7 separate regions of the Homo sapiens genome follow, and regions 2, 3, 4, 5, 6 and 7 are each linked to region 1. The links are contacts of gene promoters, found by promoter capture Hi-C in blood cells and fetal thymus (Javierre and others, 2016). All regions are on one chromosome and are shown on one strand. Each heading gives the region's core, a stretch centred on a gene start or on the middle of the fragment in contact. The rest is flanking DNA. Distances are from core to core; before and after follow the strand shown. Region 1 holds the start of NXPH2 (neurexophilin 2). Region 2 has its middle 130 kb from the start of HNMT. Region 3 overlaps LOC101928273 (a long non-coding RNA gene). Region 4 has its middle 27 kb from the start of HNMT. Region 5 has its middle 9.5 kb from the start of HNMT. Region 6 overlaps HNMT (histamine N-methyltransferase). Region 7 overlaps LOC107985948 (a long non-coding RNA gene).

Region 1 (3,022 bases), core at 226-2,725:
AAACCTAGGACCAAGGCTGCTCTGCTTCAACCGCTAAGATTTAACAACCCTCCTTCATTTCTATTTTGGGGTGGGGGTGGTAAGCAGAGGAGAAGGAAACTTTTTTTTTTTTGTCCAAAAATTACAACTTAATCTGTGCTTTTTGTTGGGTTTATTTTTTAAAGCCTAGAAATCAATTGCAATTCTACTCCCTTGCTTCAACATGGTTTTCTTCTCTAAGAGCTTTGCGTTTCTAGATGTAAGAAGCATTCTCGCCTTGGGTATTCTGTCGGAGCAACTGCCTAAAGTCTCATCCTTGGAGAAGTGAATGTATCTCTCTGGACCTTAGGTTTCCCACCTGTTCAATAAAGGAGTGACGAATGACGCCCAAACTCTGATCTACCGTAAAAACAGTGCAGGTCTGTGAGCCCCATTGCCTTTGATTTTTCCACTCGAGTGTCCAGCACAAAGATAGTAAAAGGTTAAGGATCTCTCCAATGGCGAGTTGTTAACACGGAGGTCGAGGCTCACAGGCATCAGGTTTGCACCTTCGCCCGTCCGCAAAGATACCCCTCTCCAATATTTCTGAAGTCGGAGGCTGTGGTGGGGTATCCTGCCTTTATTCTGCTTCTCCAAAGCCCGGGCAGAAGGTCTGGGAGCAACTTTGTCTGTCTTCAGGACACCTAGCTGTCTATACCATCCCCAAACCGGAGTAAACCAGACATCACCTAGCTCCGTTTCTCACAGTTCTGCTCCTGGTCCCTCGAGGTCCCCATTACTCCCCAACCCCAGAAATCCTTCCAGCCGCACCAGGCGCACTTTGTACCCCTTACCCGCGGCTCTGCGAGCTTGGCGCTGCGGCAGAGTAGGGCACTCTCCCAGGGCGTCCTGGGCTCCAGCCTCACCTCCCCGCCCCAGCCTTTTCCGTTCGCAGCTCCCCACGCCCCGCCCCAGGACTCTGCAATCGCCTTCCCCTCCTAAACTCTCTGGGCGCTCTCCAGGCGGGCGCACTCTTTCTTGCAGCCACCCAGGGAGAACCTTTTCTTCCCCTCATCCCCAATCTCCCCAGCCAAAGCGAGAGCCAGTCAGTTGGCAGGGCGCTTGGCACAGTGGAGCCTCTCGGACCGGCCTTCTGCTGGGCGGGGGTGGGAGGAGGCACCCGGCCTCTCGGGGCTCTGGGGCACCGGCTGGCCAGGCGTGCTCAGCTCGGCCAGGCATCCGCCCGGCGGGATCGGATCTGGAGGGCAGCCTCGCACTGAACCCATCACCCAAGCGCCCGAGCCGCCGCCTCCCTCCCGCAGGCGCCCCACGCGCTCACCCCAAGCCCGGCCAAGCGGGAGAGTCCAAGGCGCGACTGAAGCCCCCCGCCGCGTGCCGGAGCTCGAGCTGCCCCGCAGGCTCTTTGCCGGCCCCCTCCGAGGAGGGGCGCGCGGGGGGCCGGGAGAGGCACCTCCGGTCCGCCCACCCTCCCCCTTCCCTGCCCGCCCACCCGGCCAGAGCTGCGCGGCACGGCGCAGCGCTCGGATTCCGGGAGGGAAGCGCCGCGCTGTGTCCCTGGCGTCCTCAGTCCTGCCCCGCGAAGTGGAGATGCGCGAGAGGCAGGCGAGGGCGCGCAGCTCGTGAAAAGCCGCGCCAGCCGGCACCATGCGCCTGCGGCCGCTGCCCCTCGTGGTGGTCCCTGGCTTGCTGCAGCTGGTGAGTGCCCGGCCCGCGCGCCGTCCCACACGCCGGGGACGCGTTTCGGCGGGAAAACCGCGCAGGCGGCTGACTTGGAGCCCAGCCTGGGCCTGCTTGGGAAGTGGGGTTGGGGGCGCGCGGAGGGCAAGGAGTTTTGGGTTGCCTTAGAGGTCGAAAGGGAAGAATTGAAGAACGGAATAGACGGGATCTACAGGCGACTCAGGGGCTTAGCACGGGTTGGGACTTGAGCGCTGGGGTAAAGTAGGCAGAAGGTGGCCGGGAAGTAGGTCCGGGAGAAGGAAGCGGTTTATTGATAAGCGGTCAAGGAGAGGAAGGAAAGTAAATTGATAGGATGAGAAGGGGCAGAAAGACCTTCCTCCTGTTCACAGTTTGAGAGGCTTGGTGGTGTTTATTTTTCACGTGGTGTTTTGCCCAGATGCACACAGACACTTCTCCCAAAGCACAGCATAGTGCATGCATCCTCGTTCTCAGAGCCAGGTAGTGGCGCCTTGCTGGGAGAAAACTTAGGCAAAATACGGATTTGGGGGACAGCTTGGATTTCTCTTCGTTTTCCGTCTGGCGCTAGGGACTGGGATGGGGCTTTCTGCCAGCTGGGGACACAAGATATAACTTTCATGCCCAGCTCCGCGCAGGAGCCCCCTCTCGGGCATCTCGAAGCTGTCTTTTCAGGGAGACCGCCCGCCTGGTCTGGGTGGCTCGGAGGCGCTGAGGAATAAGAAACGTATTAAAATGTGGTTTGGGGTTCGCGTTGTCACTCTCTTCTCTCTTCCCGCGAGGCGCCACGCTCTCCTCCTCCTGATATACGCCTATGTTCTATATGCATGGCTAATTATAGTTGAGGGAAAACCAAAGTAAGATCTTCAAGAAGAAACTTTTAAAGTAAAATTACAGAAGGGGAGTGCTTTGGCTGGGTCAGCATCTGTGATGGATTTCTTCTGGTCACTTAGCTCTTGCCTTGTTAGGGTGCTATTAAGAGGGCTTTCTCCTGATGCCATAGTTTCTTTGGTCCTCATACTTAAGACTTTGCCCAAGCACTTAGAAGATGACAGTCTCTTCTCTCTCGCTCGCTCTCTCTCTCGTTCTCTTTGTCTCTTTCTTTTCCTATTAGGGGGAAAATCAAGTAACTTTGAAAGTTTATGATATGTATGATATTGTTAAGGCAGAGGCACTTTGCAAGTTCTGAGGGTGGAAGGAACTCTAAAAGGTGGAGAGACCTCTGAGATGCCCGTGGTCCATGCTTGTTACGGTGGAGATTAGCTTCACCTGCACAGCGTTAACTCAGAAACTCTTCAATGGCATCAAGAAGAAAATGCAATGATATGCCCAAATATCCTTGAATGAGCCA
Region 2 (3,022 bases), core at 227-2,726, 940 kb after region 1:
CACTAGATGGCAGTACAGTGTAAGCAAAAGGAAAATCTATTCCCTCAGCCCAAGCTTCTCTGGCTGCTGTTAAAGGATGTTTTACCGCTGTTTCAGGAGAAAAGGAGGAAATTCAGTCATGTTAAGGCAGTCAACTTAGAGGGCCAGGACTGTTCTAGATGGACTCCCGGGCTAGAAAGAGCATGGACTCTATGTGTCTCAGCTCCTCTAATTCCTATCTATGAGATCCTGGCAAGTTGCTTAACATCACAAGGCCTCAGTGTTCACATTTATATAATGGGTGTGAATGTTATTTTTCTTACAAGGGAAAGAAAAATGAAGTAAAACGGAGTAATATTATTAAAATACTTAAGATTTAATAAGCAGTCGATTATTAATAGCTCTGTGTCTCCTTTGGGTAGGGAAAAATAATACAATTTAGATTTTAGGTCCTAAACTAATCTCCAGGTATGGTTGTGAGGAAATTATGGGTCTTGAAAAGTAAAGAGAGAAGATTTATTCTTTACTCTGCTTCAATGTGGCTAAAGCTTCCCTGCAAAGTGTCACAATAACCTTCTCTTCATGTTCTCAAATGCAGTTGCTCCCCTCCCCATCTCTCCTTGACACGTGAAGTTCCTCTCCTATGAGGAGCATTGCCAAGTTTCGAGAGGTCTGCAATGTTGGACTAACAGTCATGGCCTTCGCACAGGCAGGAGGTCACAGCAGGGACTCCAGTGCTCACCACTTCCCTCTTCCTACATCTGCCTTTAGTTTATGAATGCATGAGAATTTCATAGTGAGTTAATGGAAGCCCTCCCAAAATATGTCCACATAGAACCCGTGAATGTGACCTAATTTAGAAAAGAAAACAAAAGGTATTTGAAGACGTAATGAAGTTAAGAATCCTGAGATGAGCTCATCCTGTATTATCCAGGTGAGTTCTAAATCCAATGGCCAGTGTCCTTAGAAAGGCACAGGGAGATGTGTGACAGAGAGGATTCGGCCATATGAAGACAGGGGCAGAGATTGCAGTGGCGTGATCACAAACCCAGGAACACCCGAGCCGCCAGAAGCCTGAAGAGGCAGGGAAGGATTCCCCTCTAGAGCTTCTGGGAGGTGCGTGGTTCTGCCAACACCCTAATTTCAGAATCCTGTATGCCACAACTCTAAGTAAATATTATAAATTCTTATCATGCTAAGCTACCAAATTTGTGGCCTTTTGAAATGGTAACTCTAGGAAACTAGTACAGGTTTATATCAAGAAAATTCCTGTCCCCATGTATTTTTCCAGTGTGCTAGAAATTCCATGATTAGCAAATTTATTCCTTTGGTTTAAATTGCAGATTCTTTTAAAATAAAATACATGAGATCCTGGGAAAGGTGTCCTATTTTAGAGAATGAATGTTCACACCACAGCCTCTGTGAATGGATGGCTCATATCTACAGAAAAGCACTGGATACTAGGAAGGAAACAATTCTAAAGGGTTGTAGGGTTGTAGGGCACTGGCTCTAGCAGACCAGCTTGCCTTGCTGCAAGACAACTTGTCTGGCGTTTGACCCAGAGGTTCCTCATTACTTCAATGGTCTTCAATGAAAGAAGCCAAAGTTTGGAGAAACCCCAAAGAGTATTGCCTTTAGACCCATCTAAGACCCCACACTGGACTAATTTCTGGAGGCCCCTTGCCATCGAGGATGTGCCCATGGGGCCAGTGGAACATGTCCCCAGAATTAGCATCTTCCCCTCCCAGCCAGTGATACAGGTGGTGCCCAGATCCCAGAATTATTCACCCACATGGCCTCCCAGCCCTTCCCCAAGTCCCCTACAGGCTTTTTCTCTAGACCTGCCCTCTCTGGGGTGGCTAGCATTATACTGTGCACACTCCTAGGCTGGGGGTGGTGAATGTGTGAGGCCCTTCGCAGGAGAGAATGGAGCCGACAGGTGGCTTGCTGGGCTCCAGGACCCTTCTCTTCTGGCACCTCCAGGTTCTGGCTGAGGAATTTGATCATTCTGAACTGAAATGTAGCCTCTCTGGTCTTTTTTGTATATTTGTCAAGGTAGGAGGATTAAACATATTTAATTAAATGATTAGTTAACTTGGCTTATAAATTAAAATATTTAGACAAGTGGAATGTGGGCCTTACATTTGCATCCTTTCCTTGGGACCAGCCAAACATGAGGTGGCCCTGCCTCTGAGATAGGCAACGCTGTAGGAGCACTCTGCAAGTTGGAGTAGTGTGTGAACGGCAGTCCATAAAAGGCAGGACATAAAAGCAGAATCTCAGTGCTGGAGGTGCCCACAAGGAAAAAAAAAAAAAAAACCCACAAAAGGAATTGGTAGTAAAACCCAAGCATCACACCAACACCAAGCACGGAAATGACTACATCACAGACAGCAGACACCAGGTCCCCCATCTCCTGGCTATTCGACTTTAGAAAAGAAGCTTAAAGTCTTGAACTGAAATTCTTAAAATATAAAATCAGGATGATTAAATATATGTCAAAGAGTTATTATGGGAATTCAGAAAGCAGTAAATCAAAGTCATTACTTTAAAACAAGGACACATACTTCAGATACTAAATGCAGCGTAAATTGTAACTATCCTTGTTACAGCTATTGACAATGTATCACATGGAATTGCTGGGACTGGGGAGAGTGAGTCTTGGGATGAGAAGCAACATTGAGATGGACACCTCCCTCAAAAGCATCAGATGTCTCAGTAAGAGAGGCAAGCTCTGATCTCCCAAATTGAGTTTTGTATGGACATATACCTACTTATGGGTGGAAATATAATAATGAAGCACAACTAGTTGGGAACAGCTGTTTTAAACATTCTAAGAAAAGATTGCTTGTCTGGTCTGCCCACTTAAGGGCTCCAGAGTTGTAAATGTGAGTCTTACATGTGATTTTTAGTTTGGGTTGGCTCAGACCAGACATCTCTCTAACATGGTACATGGAGAGTTATTATTATTAATTTTTCATAATAGAGTACTTCGAGAAAACAAATGAACCATTTCAAAATGAAAATTATATGCAGATTATTA
Region 3 (3,022 bases), core at 133-2,632, 900 kb after region 1:
CTGCACTCCAGCCTGGGTGACAGAGCGAGACTCCGAAAAAAAAGAAGAAAGAAAGAACGAACAGATATAAGAAAAGTATGATAAAAGTGTGGGAGGCTGCAGTTGAATATGGCTTTAGTTCTCATTTTGAACATCAATGTAACAGCCACGGTAGATTAACGGCTTCCCTACTTTCTTTTTTTTAAAGCATTACTGATTACATTTCTCATATTTTTCTTTCACATCTCTTACATCTTATTCCATGAAATAAGTACATTTCTTTTCCTGCCCTTTCTTCCTGTTTAATGTTTATTCACACTTCAAAATGCATGTAAAATGTTAGCTTCATCAGCACTCACAGTTATAACTTTTTCCTCCTCTTCCAATATATAGCTAATTATATACAATCTTACTATAGAATTTATTATGTTATTGCAATCTGATTGTTAAATAAACTAGATTTAGTGAGATGAAAGCAGAAAACATAGCTACTCTCTTTATCCACTAACTTTCAAATTCCCACACCCAGAGGTTAGTTTCAGATCATAGAATTTGTCATTGTGTTCAGGTACTGAGTATTTCACCTTTAAGTAATACAAAAGCAGCATTATCTGACACTGTTTTAAAACTATATTTGGAAATACCAAGAATTTAATAGCCAAGATAACTTTGAAAGAGAACAAAGTTTGAGGATTTACATGATTAAATATCAAAACTTACTATAAAGCTAAAGTACATCAAACAGTAAGGTGTTAGAACAAGCATGGACACACAGAATAATAAAACAGAAAACAGATCAGAAACAGACGTTTCTATATATAGTCACCTGATTTTTGACAAAAGAACTACTACAATTTAGTGTGTAGAATGGCCTTTTCAATAAAAGGTGCTGGATCAACTGGATATCTATGAGGAAAAATTTATTTTGACCCCTCCTCATACCCTATACAAAAGCGAGTCTGTGATTTGCAAAAATCACATCAACTAGATCTGAGACCTTGGTGAGAAATGTAAAATCATGTAGCCTCTTAAAAGAGAACATAGGACATTATTTTTATAACATTGGGATAGGCAACGATTTTCCAAACTGTACACAACTATAACTATAATTGATAAATTAAACTTTCCTAAAATTCACAATTTCTGCTCATCAAAAGACACCCATTTAGAGAGTGAAAATCTCAAGCACACACTGGGGAAAATTACTATATATATAACTAAGGATTTGTGTCCTGAATATATAAAAAGAAGCTCCTCAATAAAAATGGTCAAAGTGGTCAAAAGACTAGAAAAGGAACTTCACACACACACACTCACACACACACACACACGGTCAATACGACATCATTACTTATTGGGGAAATGCAATGAGACACCACTACACAATGACTCAAACTTAAAAGACTATTCAATGTAAAATTTAATATGTGAGGAAGTGGAGCACCTGGAACTCTCATACACTGCTGACTACAGTATAAAGTTTTACATGAACCTAGGAAAATTGTTTAGCAGGATCTACTTGTTTCAGTGTTCACTGGGTGGTCAGGTTGTGCTGCAGGATAGACTATCACAAGAATGTGGTCAAATGTGGTCAAGGTTAACAGGGGAAGAAGCGCCGCCCAGGGGAGAGACCAGTGCATGATTTGAGGTCACTGAGAGCAGACAAGACGCCTAGCAGGCTCAAGTGGTACAGTGTTTACTTACACCAAAATGAGAGAGAGAGTGTTTACAAGATCCAGTCCCTTGAAACGTGCCAGTCCCCCATAGGCAGCAGATCCACTCCAAAGCCAAGGTGGGCAGTATGGCTGCAGGCATCCCACTTTATGCTGCAGTAAAAGAATCCCCTCCCCAAAACCCACCTTTCCCATTCCCTCCCGCAGCTGTGGGATCTGAAATACGAAAAGCTGGGGAGAACCATTCATACATTCACTTAATCAGAACAAAGGAGTGCACACACTGACTCAGAAGCAGGGAAAGATAGTCCCACACAAGGTGACAAGCCCAGGTCAAGCTGCGAGGACTCTATCTCTTGATAAGGAAGTGTTCCAGGCCCAAGCCCATTCTTACGTAGCTGAGTGGGGGTGAGTATGAGACTGCCTTTCCCTACATTACGAATGTTCAATGTGGTCTTCTGTGACCCAGCAAGTCCACTCCTATGCACTTTACCCGTGAGAAGCACACATACAAATATGTTCATAGTAGTTTAATCCCTAATAGTCAAAGCCTAAAAACAATCCATCCATCACTAATGGAATGGATAAGCCAGTGGTGATACATTCCCACCACGGGGAGCTATACAGCAGTAAAAATACACTGCCGACCACACGACCCTCAGCATGACACCCACAGACATAATGTAGGGGGAAAGAAGCCAGCCACAAAAGATTTCATAATGCATAATTCCGTTTATGGAGAGCTCAAGAAGAGTTAGCCATCTAAAGTGATAGAAGTCAGGTTATTGTTTGTTTCCTGAGAAGTTCTGGCTAGGGTTTACATGGGTGGAGATAAGAAAAAAGTCATCCAGCTGTACATTTAGAATTCTTGACTTATGCATTGTATGTTTGCAAAAAAAAGGAAAAAAGTGCAACCTAGTCTAAAATAACTTCATTTCCAGCTCCCCGTCCCACTCCCAGGCTTGATTCGAGGCTCTCCAGGCTTGCAGAGGAGTAGGGAGTAGCACATCCACTTTTCTTCTTTCTTTATTCCAGTCTTACCTGCTTTCTAGCTGACCTTAAGGTCAGGCACAGGAGTGAGAGAGGATTTGAAGAAAAGGCCAGATCTTTCTGGACTGGGGCTTCTGTGAAAAATTCCCAAATTCTGCCCCTTTAATCACCCCTTGGATGGTGATTGTGTAAGGGACAGCCTCCCAGGGCACCGAGTCCCCCAGGGCGGACGCTTCCCGAAGTGCCCCTGGCACAGGCGGCTCTCAGTCACCTTACCCGGAGCCAGTTCTCTGGGGCTGAGTCTCTTAAGATGTCTACAGTACTGCTACCTCCCATGAGATAAACTCTTCCTACACGAAAATCCCACTACCTCTGCCTCT
Region 4 (3,022 bases), core at 302-2,801, 840 kb after region 1:
GAGGTAGCAAGTGGCATGTGGTGTTGGTTTAATTAGGAGAGGTGAGAGCAGAGCTGAACTATTCAATGAAACAGACATTTATTTAGCTCTTAATATATATATGACACAATGAGAGAATACAGTGATACCTAAACCATGACAGGGTACAATAGGATAAAATATTATACAAGATGGTGCACTGAAACTGATTTTTTTTTCTTGTTTTAAAAGCAGCTTCTTTCTTGCTCTAATCTTTATAAAACTAAAAGAAAATCTGCACCTGTTTGGAGGAGATATGGTGCAGAGCTCTCAGGAAGGACTGAGCCAGTTAATAAATTTGCAGCCCCTTTTCACCTTGTCACCATCTCGCTCTCTACAGCAGTATCTGTGGCCTCTATCACACATTTTGCTTCTCTTATTTTCTTTATACTCTTATCCAGTTCAGCTTTGTTTGTCGGCTCTTATGCAACCTACACAAGTGGAATTCTCCTTGGACTCTTTTGTCTCCAACATAAATTGAAAAACCACAACTTTGGCAATGGCTGTGGGACACATTTCAGTGCACTCATATCTCAACCAACGGAGTCAAAGGGATCAACTTGTTTTTACTGACAACCTAAAGACAAAGGCTCTTCAGGGCTATGAGAAAAGCTTACTTTGAAAGTGCGGTAAAGGGGATTTTAAAGAAGAAAACAAATGGCAATTGAATTTTACTGTTTCCAGGAAACAAAAAATTAGAATTTTAGACTCTTAAACTCAGATTGCTGGAAAAATAATTGGACCTTTATTTGTTTGCTTTAGAGAAGAGAGAGAGAAAAAAAATCCCTTAATTGTCCTGCGAGAATTAACTGCAGATGGAGAGTAGGTTCTTAGGAATTTCTCACAAGGGAATCAATGGCACATCCTGCCCACCCTGTCCCCAAGCTAGATCAGCAGATTCCTGGCCAGGAGCCCACAATTATCACGTGACTTCAGTGGCACCAGCAGCTCCCCTACATACCTGACCCAACCAATAGCTCATGCTGAGAATGGTGCCTGAGAGGCCCCAGTGAACTGGCAGGGTGGCATGGGGCTTTCTTGCTAGAGAAAGAAACCTGCCCAAACCATGACTTTGCAGTGTGCTCAAGGTTTACATGGGGTTTTCTGGAAAGATAGTGGCGGGGGTGAAAGCCACGTATCTGTTCTTTGCCATTGCCTTTTCCTAGGGCCTTAGTTCTCTTGCTCTTCATTCTTACCAAGACAGAAAATATTGAGCAGTCACAGGAACTCTTTTCTTGTATGTGCAGAGATATCATGCACAAATCTGGTGACTCTGAATGTACAGTGGGAGGGCCTCAAGAGCGCTCATGCGTTCAAGGTGGAAAAAGCCCCTCACTACTCACTGTACATCCATCCTCAAACTGGCACACGTTGGCTCTTCCCTCATCCTCTAGAGCTAAAACATAAGCCGAAGGTGGCCCTACACTCCTTCTTCTTTATAGGAACACATTGCTCATGAACTTCTGAGTCACAGCCCCATAGGCAAACATAGGTGAGAAAAGTTTGGGGAAAGAACTTGAAAGTAGCATGCACTAGAGAACACTCTGGAAGAGCTAAGAAAAGGTGCACTTTTTTTCCCTCTTATGTCTAGGAGGTCCAACAACTGTGAGGAAGATTCAATAGGACTATTCAATAGCTAGTTATTCACAAAATTTATTTCCTTCCACACTGTAGACAGCTTTTCCCAATCTCCCTTGCAGTTAGGAAGAATGCAACTGCATTCAGCCAGTGGGAAGTGGGCAGAAGTGATTACTGACCTTGGCCACTTACCCTCATGTCTACAATTCTTTCTCTTCACTTGCTGCTGAATATTGACACTCAGGGAGATCCTAGAAGCTCCGTGCTGAAAATGGTGGATCCTCTTTCAGCCTGGATCTCTGAAAGACTACGTACCCTTCTCTCCTCCTTATAAGTAGAAGAAAGACCAGAGCATGCTCTCTCTCCCCCAGCCTAGCAGTGAGAGCACAGAGGAAAGAAGATGTGAGGGCACAGTGAGAAGGAGGCCATCTGTGAGCAAGGAAAAGAGCCCTCACTAGACAACAACCCTGACAACATCTTAGTCTTGAATTTCTAGCCTCCAGAACTGTGATTTTAAAATGTTTTGTTGTTTAAGCCAAACAGTCTGTGGTATTTTGTTATGGCAGCCTGAGCAGACTAAAACAACCATAGATGCCACTCTCGCCCCAATCCTTGTTGCAGATTGAATTTTACATGATGAAAAATAAATGCCTTTTTTTTATTAAGCCACCGAGATGTCAGGCTTTATGTCTTACAACAGCTAGTGTTTACATTTCTGATACAAAGACTGCGCAGAGCTAATCAAGTGTGTGATATCCCTTTTCTCAAAATGTACAGGCTGGATTTTTTTTTTTTTTTTTTTTTTTTGAGACGGAGTCTTGCTCTGTCTTCCAGGCTGGAGTGCAGTGGCGCAATCTCAGCTCACTGCAAGCTTTACCTCCCGGGTTTGCGCCATTCTCCTGCCTCAGTCTCCCGAGTAGCTGGGACTACAGGCGCCTGCCACCATGCCCGGCTAATTTTTTGTATTTTTAGTAGAGATGGGGTTTCACCTTGTTAGCCAGGATGGTCTCCATCTCCTGAACTCGTGATGTGACCCCCTTGGCCTCCCGAAGTGCTGGGATTACAGGCGTGAGCCACCGTGCCCGGCCCAGGCTGGATTTTTACATGAAAACTCTGCCTTAGTGCAAAAGATTCCTTGGGTCAACACTCAAGATTATTACAAAAAAAAAAAAAAAAGCTGACTAATACTTCATTAACAGATATTTAAAAAATAAGAGTACTTATTTAAGCCAGCTAATTTTTCAAACATTTTATGACTCTCAGCTTATTTCATTCTCATAGAAATCTATGAGGTATAATTCTTATTATCCCTGTTTTATAGATGAAGACACTGAAATAGCTATTGCAAAATTATAACTGAGAAAGAGATCTGACCTAACCAGCTCCATCTTGCTTCTAACCTCTAAGCTGTCCTTGTTCATTCCTG
Region 5 (3,022 bases), core at 308-2,807, 830 kb after region 1:
ACTAAAACTAGCTGAAAACCAGTTGGCAAGGAAGTATGGGTGATATAACTTGTAGGATTCAACTTTTTGAAGTACCTAGTAGAGGATGGGAAGGACCAGAAATGTATCTAGCATCAAACAGTCAATAACCAGAACAAGTGCCTACTATAGTAAATTAATTTGTTGTGAGTGGAAAAAGAAAAAGAAAAAAAAGCATAAAGCAAAATACCTAGAATGTATTAAGTACTCACTGAATGCCAGATAAAATAGTGAAAACAAAAGGTGTCTATTGTGATAGCTACAGGTCAATGAGAGCTAGTACTCATGAACTCTTAAAGAAGACTGACTTTGTTTGATGAGGGTATTTGGCTGAAAACTATTTCTTGGGAATGTATCAGGGTTTTGGGAAACTCATCAGCGGGCACCTGATAATGGGAGGTCATTAGGAGTCCCATGATGATGGGATTCCTTTTCAGATCTGAGAATTTCAGAGCTGTCTGTCCCTTTCTCCTCCTGTGCTCGCTGGGGGTCAGAAGATGGACTAATGGGCGACTCCCGCTCCTGCTTCTCTCCATGTTACACTGCTTACTAACTCCCTGTGTGACTTTGAGCAAGCACTTAATTCAGTTGCCTTGAATTTCTTCAGATGTAGAGAACTAGATGCCATCATTCATTTCCAGTTCTAAAATTCTAAGACTACTTGAGTTTACACCTGTTAATCAGAGACACGGCTCATATTTCAGGCTTGAATTAGGATGCCATTTGTAAGACATTTGGCACTCGATGTGTCTCATTCTCTGACTCTTTGGTGCTCCTCCTTCCCTAATACAAATTCAAAGCTACTTTGCATTTCTAAGCATAGATTATACCATTGTGATGCACTAACAATTTGGAAAACATAAGGGGATCAAAGTAATTACCCATATGTTCTCAGGCAGTAGAAAATAATTAAAGTCTGTTTATAAATATGGCTAATTAAAAACAAAATGCATATGAATTCAATGTTTATTTTATTATTTCCTACATAGGACTCTAAGAGTTGTTGTTGTTGTTGTTGTTGTCTTTAAAGACAGGGTCTCACTCAGTCACCCAGGCTGGAGTACAGTGGCACAATCACCACACACTGCAGCCTTGAACTCCTGGGCTCAAGCAATCCCCTTGCCTAAGCCTCCCAAGTATCTAGGACTACAGGCATAAGACACCATGCCTGGCTACTTTAAGTTTTTTTTTTTTTTTTTTTTGTAGCATTGGGAAGTCTCACTCTGTTGCCCAGTCTGGTCTTGAACTCCTGGCCTCAAGCAATCCTCCTGCGTCGGCCTCCCAAAGCAGTTGTTTTTAAATATAGTCAATGCCTATAGAAGAAGTAGCTCCCAGGATGTTGTATAATCAGACATTATACATGGGGTGTCAGTCAGCTCAAGTAGCTCAGAGATGATCTCTGGTAAAATACATTCCAGAGTTATCAATTTGGCACACATTTTGTGCCATCAACTGAAATTTGTAGTTAATAAACACATGGTTAAAAACAGAGGCATAATGTTCCCAAAAGTGTATTTAAAGACTCTCTGCTCTACTACTCCAAATTAATACTTCCACTGGTCCAGTTCTAGCAGCAGTGAAATGCAGATTGGGTCAAAGATGGTGAAGGTTTATGGAGATTAACTCAATAATTTTTGAAAATTTGCTATTTGATAATTCTGAATTGATCTGTAGATGATCTTGTCTCCAAAACTCCATACTACTAAAACAAACAAAAAAGGAAGTAAAGACAATTTTTAAAAGTACAGTGATTTTTGCCTCTCACAAGTGTATGTTCTGTTTTATACTGTGTTTCTAGTTATGGTGCCTAATGAAATGCTGGTTGAAATTGTGACAGGCCAGGTCTCACTAATGCAGGCCTCCATAACAACTGTTTCAGTACTGACTGAGTGGTTAAGTTAAATATTAAAAGTCAGTACCCTTATATAAAGGCTGGAATGTAACAAATGCCCACCAAGAGTTTTGCTTAGGCCTTTCCTGGGCCTTAAAACATGACAAAATAACAAAGGAACTCTTAACAGAACCTATTCAGGATTAAACAAGTTTTACTGTGGGTCTGAAGCAACTCCCCAGGCCTCCACAAACAAGTTTATTGGAGGTCTGTGGGAACTCCCCAAACCTCCATGATTTAGCAGGAGACAAGATAAGGGTAATCACCCCAGCACCTGGACCCATTTACATGAAGTAAATTTACTGAGGCTCCAGAGGAAGGTCTTCAGGACTTAGGCCTTAGTTACGGATTAAAAGAAGTTATTCACTTACAACATTAGATGAATGCACACTTACATGTAGACATATAGCTTAGAAGGTATATAAGCTCTGAAAAACTTTGTAATTTTGAGTTGGTCTGGTGATCCAGGCCTTCTCCCTGTGACTGGTTACAGAAATAAAAACTCTGTTTCTCCCCAATTCATCTGCATCTTGTTATTGGCGCGCAAGGGATAGCTGCCCGACCCTCAGTTTGGACCAGGAACAAAATGTCAAAGTTGATTAAAACTTTTCACAGTACATATTTGGTCTTTTACTAGTCAGATAAACAGTGAAAAGCTCATGTTTTTCATAATATTGCTGCTAGAATCATTTTTCTAAGTTTCATTTTTATCACCTTTTTATCTCTAGTCAGGATAGGAAATTAATGCATATTGGAATTGAATTTGTTTGGGGAATTCGTTTTGTTTAATTTGTTTTAAAATACTAACTGCAATCCAGTATTGAAAGGAGATATAGCTCAAACTTCTTAATAGCCATATCCAGGGAGACTTCCATAGTGAAAATGTGAGCCGAAAGTAGATATTGATGATATTCAAGAAAATAATTTCAGTAAATTTGGAATGAGCCAAAATTATGTATGAAAACTCAACTTGAAATTAGAATTCAAAGCAAGATCCCCATGAATAGAGGATGTTGCAGCTTGCTGCTAGGTGGCAGACAGAGGGAAGAATAAATGAGCTCCAGCTTTTGAGAAATTTAATTAAAAATTATATCAAATCTGGGATTCTCCTGA
Region 6 (3,022 bases), core at 198-2,697, 800 kb after region 1:
TGGACTTTTATGTAGATTGTAAATAATCAAAATTGGGAATGGAAAACACTCAAACGTTAACAACAACAAAACAAAATAAGAACCTAACATACTGCTTTTTTTCTATTTTACCTGTTTAAGCCCATTGCTGCATTCTTATTAATTATAAGGCTTTAGAACTAAGTTTATTTGCTTTTGTAAGTATACAGTCATTTAATCTGCAATGATAGTTTTGTCCTCACTTGGTTCATTATCCCTTGTTTTGCTGTTTCTAACCTTATTGAATTAGCCAAAACAATCTTGTTTACTCTGCTTTTAATGACAATCACTCCAGTGTTCTAACACTATGCTCCCTTCTCTTGAATCTGTAACTTATCTGTCTTTAACAATAGCTCAATGCTCACTGAAAGTTTTAAATACAATACAATGGGGTAAGCTATTTTGGTAAAATTATTTATGAAGAATACTTTATTTTTTAATCATATATTTAACAAATGCCTTTAATAAAATGATGCCCCAAACTATAACTGTGTTTATGTAAAGTAGTTCTAAATCTTGTAGATTAGTTTATGATTATAATCTATATCCTTCTGGTAAAGGAGTTAACTGCTATGATGCTGCATATAAGTACTAGTTTTTACTCATTTTTAGTTATAAGCAATTAAAATCCATTCCCAAAGTTGTCTGCAGGTCTAGAAACCCCATTAGAATACCGCTTCCTCAATACAGCAAACATGGTAATAGCCACACTACTCCGAAAAATATTCCTACCTCTTTTCTAGAAGGTGACTCATAAAACAAGATTTCAAGACTGAAAGCACGTTTGATGGCCCAAACACACAAGAAAATCAGTGCCTAAGTCCCTTCCATAACATATCTGTAAAGTATTTCTCCAACCTGTGCTGACACCACTAGAATGACTTTTTATCTCCCAAGGAGTGGAAGTTATTTTCTATTTATAGACAGGTTTTTTTTTTTTTGTTTTTTGTTTTTTTGAGATGGAGTCTTGCTCTGTCCCCCAGGCTGGAGTGCAATGGCCCGATCTCGGCTCACTGCAACCTCCTCCTCCCAGGTTCAAGAGATTCTCCTGCATCAGCCTCCCGAGTAGCTGGGATTGCAGGTGTGTGCCACCATGCCCAGCTAATTTTTGTGTTTTTAGAAAAGCCGGGTTTCACTATGTTGGCCAGGCTGGTCTCAAACTCCTGACCTCAGGTGATCGGCCCCAGTTGGCCTCCCAAAGTACTGGGATTACAGGCGTGAGCCACCAGGCCCAGCCAACAGGCTCTTACACTGAGCCAAGAAATCACTCTCTGAAGCTTTCAACCATTGGCGCTTTGAGGGCAAATATTCTATTGTTTGCCCATCAGAAAATATACGAAAATGGCAATAAGCACAATCAAATTCTTTTTTCCAAGCAAAAAATACCTCAATTCCCTGTATTTTCTCACACATTTTAAGTTTGTTGATCTGTACTGTTGGCTTACTATGGATCATTGGTAAACATTAACCTTTGCTTCCTGCCACCTCCTAGTTTCTAAACCTGACACACTGGATCTTCCAGTTCCTACTTGAATTACATTCATTCTACTGCCATCCAATCAGCTTAAAGTATTAAGCTTCTGTGTTACCTTAACATGTTATTTATGAAAGGAGACAAGGTTAATAATCTGATAAGGTTAGATTTTCAAATAGCTAGTCATTGCTAAGTACCTAATCTCTCCTGTGAAAGGAAAATAAAATCCTGGGACTCCAAACTCACTATGTTAAAAGGAAGAGTTACACTTGAGAACTGGGTCACACAAAAACTGCCTTCCCTTTTGTACCTAAACAGATAGGTGCAATGACAGAAGGCCACTATTTCTCCATGTGGCCCCCCTCCTTTTACATATAACATGTGGATTCAGTGAGTACTGATCAAACCCTCACAAGAAAGTGACCACTTACCTTACTCCCTACCCTCCCTATTTTTTTCTTTCCTCCTTCTCTCCTGCTGCTCTTCCCCCTTTAAATATTGAAGCCTTCAAACACCTCTTTGGAAAAAGCACAGATCACAGATGCTACTGCAACCTAGGTCTCTTTTTCTCAGTTGCATCCTCAACCTTGGTAAAATAAACCTCTAAATTGATTGAGAGCTGTCTCAGACACTTTCTCCCTTACCAGGTTAAGAATTAACTATTAAATCTGTTTAGTACAATTTGTTGGACTGGACTAAAGTCAAGAGATCTGGGTTTTCTTCTGCCTTGATGGTCCCCAGGTTTCTTATTTGTGAAGTGAGAGTGTTGATGGTCTGTAAATTTTCTTCTAGGTTTTAACCTCTGTAGAAATGCTGGTGTCTATATGCTGCAGAACAGGAGACCCATCAAACTGGTCTCAACATATGTCAGAAAAATTATTACAAAAAATATTATGAGGGTTGATAACACCTGTATTTCATATATGAGTTGCTTGAGTGGGTTAAAAAATTTATCTATAAATGTATATACAATTATTGGTATAGCAATGGTATAGTGGTTGAGTTAATATACAATAGGTTAATGAAAATAGAAGTAGGAAGCTGGATTAAATGTGATTATTTGAGTTACAGCTCTGTCTAACTCTTAAAAAACTTTCTGGCATTTGAACATAAGAACCAAACACTGGGACAGATAAAATGATTATCCTTTAAGCAGAGCCCAGAGCAAGGAGAACACATTGGCCGTGACTGCTTTCTGGAACATGTTTTCAGGTATAAATATATGCACTGTAAATTAATAGCATTCTCTCTTACCAAAAAGAATATGGGTTTCTTTTTTCCCACGTACCATCTAGCATGAAGACAACACTCATTAGAGGTTGAATAATAATGAAAACCCCCATCAAGAGGTTTAATTTAAGGAAGCACCAATGTTGATGGACCCAGAAGCATGTTCTATGAGATTTAGAATATATGCATTACTCTCAAAACCTAAAAACAATTGCAGAAATTAACAACATGAATACTTCAAGACCCTGAATAAAGCAATTCTGGCCACTCATTTTGTCTCATTAAAGCACACAAACTCAT
Region 7 (3,022 bases), core at 311-2,810, 760 kb after region 1:
CTTGTCTGCATGGTCTGGCATAGCTGACTACCACATTCCAGCCATCCAGAAGGAAAAAAAGTAGAAGAGGAGAATATATCTCTTTCTTTGTCATCATGTTCCACAAATTGTGTTATTTCTTCTCACATTCTATTGCCTAGAACTTAGTCATGTGGCTATATCAAACTCCAAGGGCGTATAAGAAATGTAGTCTTATCTGGGCAGGCTTGTACCTAGTTAAAAATTTGACACTCTATTACCATAGAAGGAAGGCAGAGGGGGCTAGTCTCTGCCACCTCACCTAATGACTCTGTCCAGCTGGAGCCACACTGGGCTCAATATTGCTGTTAAAAAGGCTTTTGTTATCAGATGCTCAGTAACTGAGGATATGTTTATACAAGGTCAAAATAATGGATCAGTTTACTGGGATTGTTCTCTCTTGCCCAAGAGACCAAGCCACAATCATACAGGAGTAGCCTCTTGAAGATAATGTATTTTGCCTCTTGAAGATAATATATTTTGCCTCTTGAAGATAATATATTTTGGGCCAAAGTTGATCAAGTCAAACAGGTACTATCTTTATGCTAGAGTCACCAGGTGAGATCCGTCCCTGGGAAATAGGATAAAAATTAAGAAGCTAGGAGATAATTCCTATATGAAACTTAAAGAGGAAGAAAAGGGACAGAGAGGCAATGAAGGTCAACATTATTAAAGACAGCAAGATGTAGTGGTTATGAACATGGTCCCTGGGGTTAATTCGTGTGTATTAGAATTCTGGCTCCACCAGATGTAAGAATGAGGTACACATTATATAATTTAATATATAATTTAAACCTCAGTTTCCTTCTTTGTGAAATTGGAATAGAAATTGTAACTAACTCACTCATAAGCTTGTTATGAGGATTAGGTTGTATAATGCCTATAAACACTTAACATGAGCACAACACGTAATAAGCCCTCAAGAAATGTTAACTATTATTAAAATGGGGTCTTTTAAATCCCTTATGGTCTGTTTTATTTAGCAAAGAATCTTCCTCCATGATTAACTCTTTTTCAAGCTGGAAACTATGAATTAGAATGGCCAAAGAAAACAGAGGGAAGCAGCCAAGCTGAAGAGCCAGTTTTTGCTCCACCATTCCTAGGACACACAGATGGGAAACTCATAAGTTGCCAACCTTGCCCAAACATATCCATCCCATGAGGCTTCTACTGGAGCAGTAAGCCCTGGCTAATTTCCTTGCCTGGGTAACTTATACAATGAAGAATAAGTCCAAACTCCTCTCCCAATCAGTCCTGGAGAAATAAAAGTAATTATAAACAAACCACAAGGAGGGTAATGCACCTTCCATTAAAGGCTATTGTGGGGTAGATGAAGTCTGTTGGGAAATGTGTGGCATGAGGCAGCAATATCTTGATAAATAAGCTAAGGCTGCAATGTGCTCCTGCTGATAATAAGCAGCATGGAGCAACTGCCTCTTCTACAAAACCCTGGGATTTATGTCCAGTCTGCCTGCATTGAAAACCAGAGAATTAACTCATGAAACCCATATATCAACACATGCAGAAAAAGGAATCACAGTATAGAAATGAAATTAGCATGAAATTAGTTAGCTGTAGAACATAAATAAAGGTACTGACACTTTTCTGCATCTTCTATAGCAAATGTCTTTGGAGAACTCACCAAGGTTGGACTATACCTCATGGCCCCTGTGATTTATTTCAACATTTTCTATCCTAAGCAGGTTGTTTGCAAAGTCCTTCAAGTATCATTAAGACAAGCCAGGAAACACAGATAATTCTTCAAGAGAAGAATATGATCATGGAAAGGCACTGCTTATACAGAGTATCCCCATGTGTCAGTGCAGCCTCCAGAACGGCGTCTTGCTGTATTTATTAATCCATTGCCACAGAGATTACTACAATCTGACTCAGAGCCCTAATTAATTTTTGGCACATTTAGAAATTGTGACTGTCGTTACCCAGGGAGCCCTTAAATCAACCCCCCTTTTACTGCAGTTGCCTTTTTATGGTGTATATCACACTGAGAAATGGATTACATGATCCTTAGCTTTAACTATCCTGCATTAGTTGATCATGTACTATGGATGTGTATTGCACAGTTTATGAATCATAGGGGAGCTAGGGTATGAATGACAGATAATTTAAACATGAAATTGGTGATGTCTGGGACCTGGTAGGAGGTGAGGCAGAGAAATACAGGCAAAAGTTAAGGCAATGGGATGGAAAAATCAGATATTTATGACAAGCTTAAAATGAACTTGTTACTGAAGTGTAGTATTTAGAAAGAGTACTATCTCATTATTCAAGGAGGTGATTTTTTCATAGTACTCTGATCCTCTGATTGCTTCTTCTTCCCTTTTATAATCAGGTCCCCTTCAATGTACAAGTGGATATTTGGGGGCAAAGGTGATTTAGTTCTATGAAGTCATACTCCGCATCTAAGATGAATGAAGATCACATATTTAACTTGCCCAATATGCAGACATACAGTGTGAGTCGGCCGGGCAGGTATAGGGTTTGGCTAACTTCCTGTTATCAACTTGCTTTGGGAGCTGGGTTAAATTATTCAGTGTATTAGTATCTCAGTTTCCTCACCTATGAAATAGGATAATAATAAATAATCTTTCTAATTCATGAGGTAACAACCAAATAAGATCTTCTATTTTGCTCTACCTAAGACATTTGGGAGGCAAGAAGCAGACACCCACAAGGATACCTGGAGTAAAATGGTATTTGTTCAGGTTAGACACAGATGGGAATAGAAACTGCAAGAACCCTTCCTTGAGACAGCCAAAGCTCATCTCCCATTCAAAGGCCATGTGGTCTTAGACTCCTGGCATCTCTCATTCTCTCTGCAAGTTGGTTCCATGCCTCACCTTCAAACCATGGCATCCCAGTGAGGTCCTCCCACATGTGGCCCACAGTGGCAACTCTAGACTTGAATCTATCTTAGGACCTTTCAGCTCAGCTACTATAGAAAGCCACCTCGCCTTCTTATTGTCCTTTAGATATGTAAAGCTTA

What was found. Contacts are between HindIII fragments. The CHiCAGO score rates a contact against its expected background, and 5 or more counts as called.
Region 2: a contact is called between a fragment that was not itself captured here and the fragment with the promoter of NXPH2 in region 1, in 1 of 17 cell types (naive CD8 T cells). The highest score is 5.4, in naive CD8 T cells.
Region 3: a fragment that was not itself captured here is called in contact with the fragment with the promoter of NXPH2 in region 1 in 2 of 17 cell types (naive CD8 T cells and total B cells); the score reaches 5.2 in naive CD8 T cells.
Region 4: a fragment that was not itself captured here is called in contact with the fragment with the promoter of NXPH2 in region 1 in 2 of 17 cell types (total B cells and megakaryocytes); the score reaches 7.6 in total B cells.
Region 5: a fragment that was not itself captured here is called in contact with the fragment with the promoter of NXPH2 in region 1 in 8 of 17 cell types (total B cells, naive CD8 T cells, naive B cells and 5 more); the score reaches 13.0 in total B cells.
Region 6: a fragment that was not itself captured here is called in contact with the fragment with the promoter of NXPH2 in region 1 in 2 of 17 cell types (total CD4 T cells and naive CD8 T cells); the score reaches 5.4 in total CD4 T cells.
Region 7: a fragment that was not itself captured here is called in contact with the fragment with the promoter of NXPH2 in region 1 in 2 of 17 cell types (naive B cells and total B cells); the score reaches 5.6 in naive B cells.

The regions. Positions count from the first base shown.
Region 1 is chr2:138,778,843-138,781,864 of GRCh38, reverse strand. NXPH2 (neurexophilin 2) reads left to right here and starts at 1,475. Exons shown (of 2, transcript NM_007226.3): 1 at 1,475-1,674. The coding sequence starts at 1,624. The HindIII fragment of the contact is 12,898 bases long and covers 1-3,022 here.
Region 2 is chr2:137,835,661-137,838,682 of GRCh38, reverse strand. No RefSeq gene overlaps it. Among named protein-coding and RNA genes, the nearest start is that of HNMT, 130 kb to the left of the region's middle. The HindIII fragment of the contact is 1,894 bases long and covers 530-2,423 here.
Region 3 is chr2:137,880,506-137,883,527 of GRCh38, reverse strand. All of the region lies in intron 2 of LOC101928273 (a long non-coding RNA gene), which reads left to right. Among named protein-coding and RNA genes, the nearest start is that of HNMT, 82 kb to the left of the region's middle. The HindIII fragment of the contact is 9,603 bases long and covers 1-3,022 here.
Region 4 is chr2:137,935,898-137,938,919 of GRCh38, reverse strand. No RefSeq gene overlaps it. Among named protein-coding and RNA genes, the nearest start is that of HNMT, 27 kb to the left of the region's middle. The HindIII fragment of the contact is 1,837 bases long and covers 633-2,469 here.
Region 5 is chr2:137,953,501-137,956,522 of GRCh38, reverse strand. No RefSeq gene overlaps it. Among named protein-coding and RNA genes, the nearest start is that of HNMT, 9.5 kb to the left of the region's middle. The HindIII fragment of the contact is 4,517 bases long and covers 1-3,022 here.
Region 6 is chr2:137,974,218-137,977,239 of GRCh38, reverse strand. All of the region lies in intron 2 of HNMT (histamine N-methyltransferase), which reads right to left. Among named protein-coding and RNA genes, the nearest start is that of HNMT, 11 kb to the right of the region's middle. The HindIII fragment of the contact is 300 bases long and covers 1,298-1,597 here.
Region 7 is chr2:138,017,860-138,020,881 of GRCh38, reverse strand. The region is part of intron 2 of LOC107985948 (a long non-coding RNA gene); the gene reads left to right. Among named protein-coding and RNA genes, the nearest start is that of HNMT, 55 kb to the right of the region's middle. The HindIII fragment of the contact is 1,377 bases long and covers 872-2,248 here.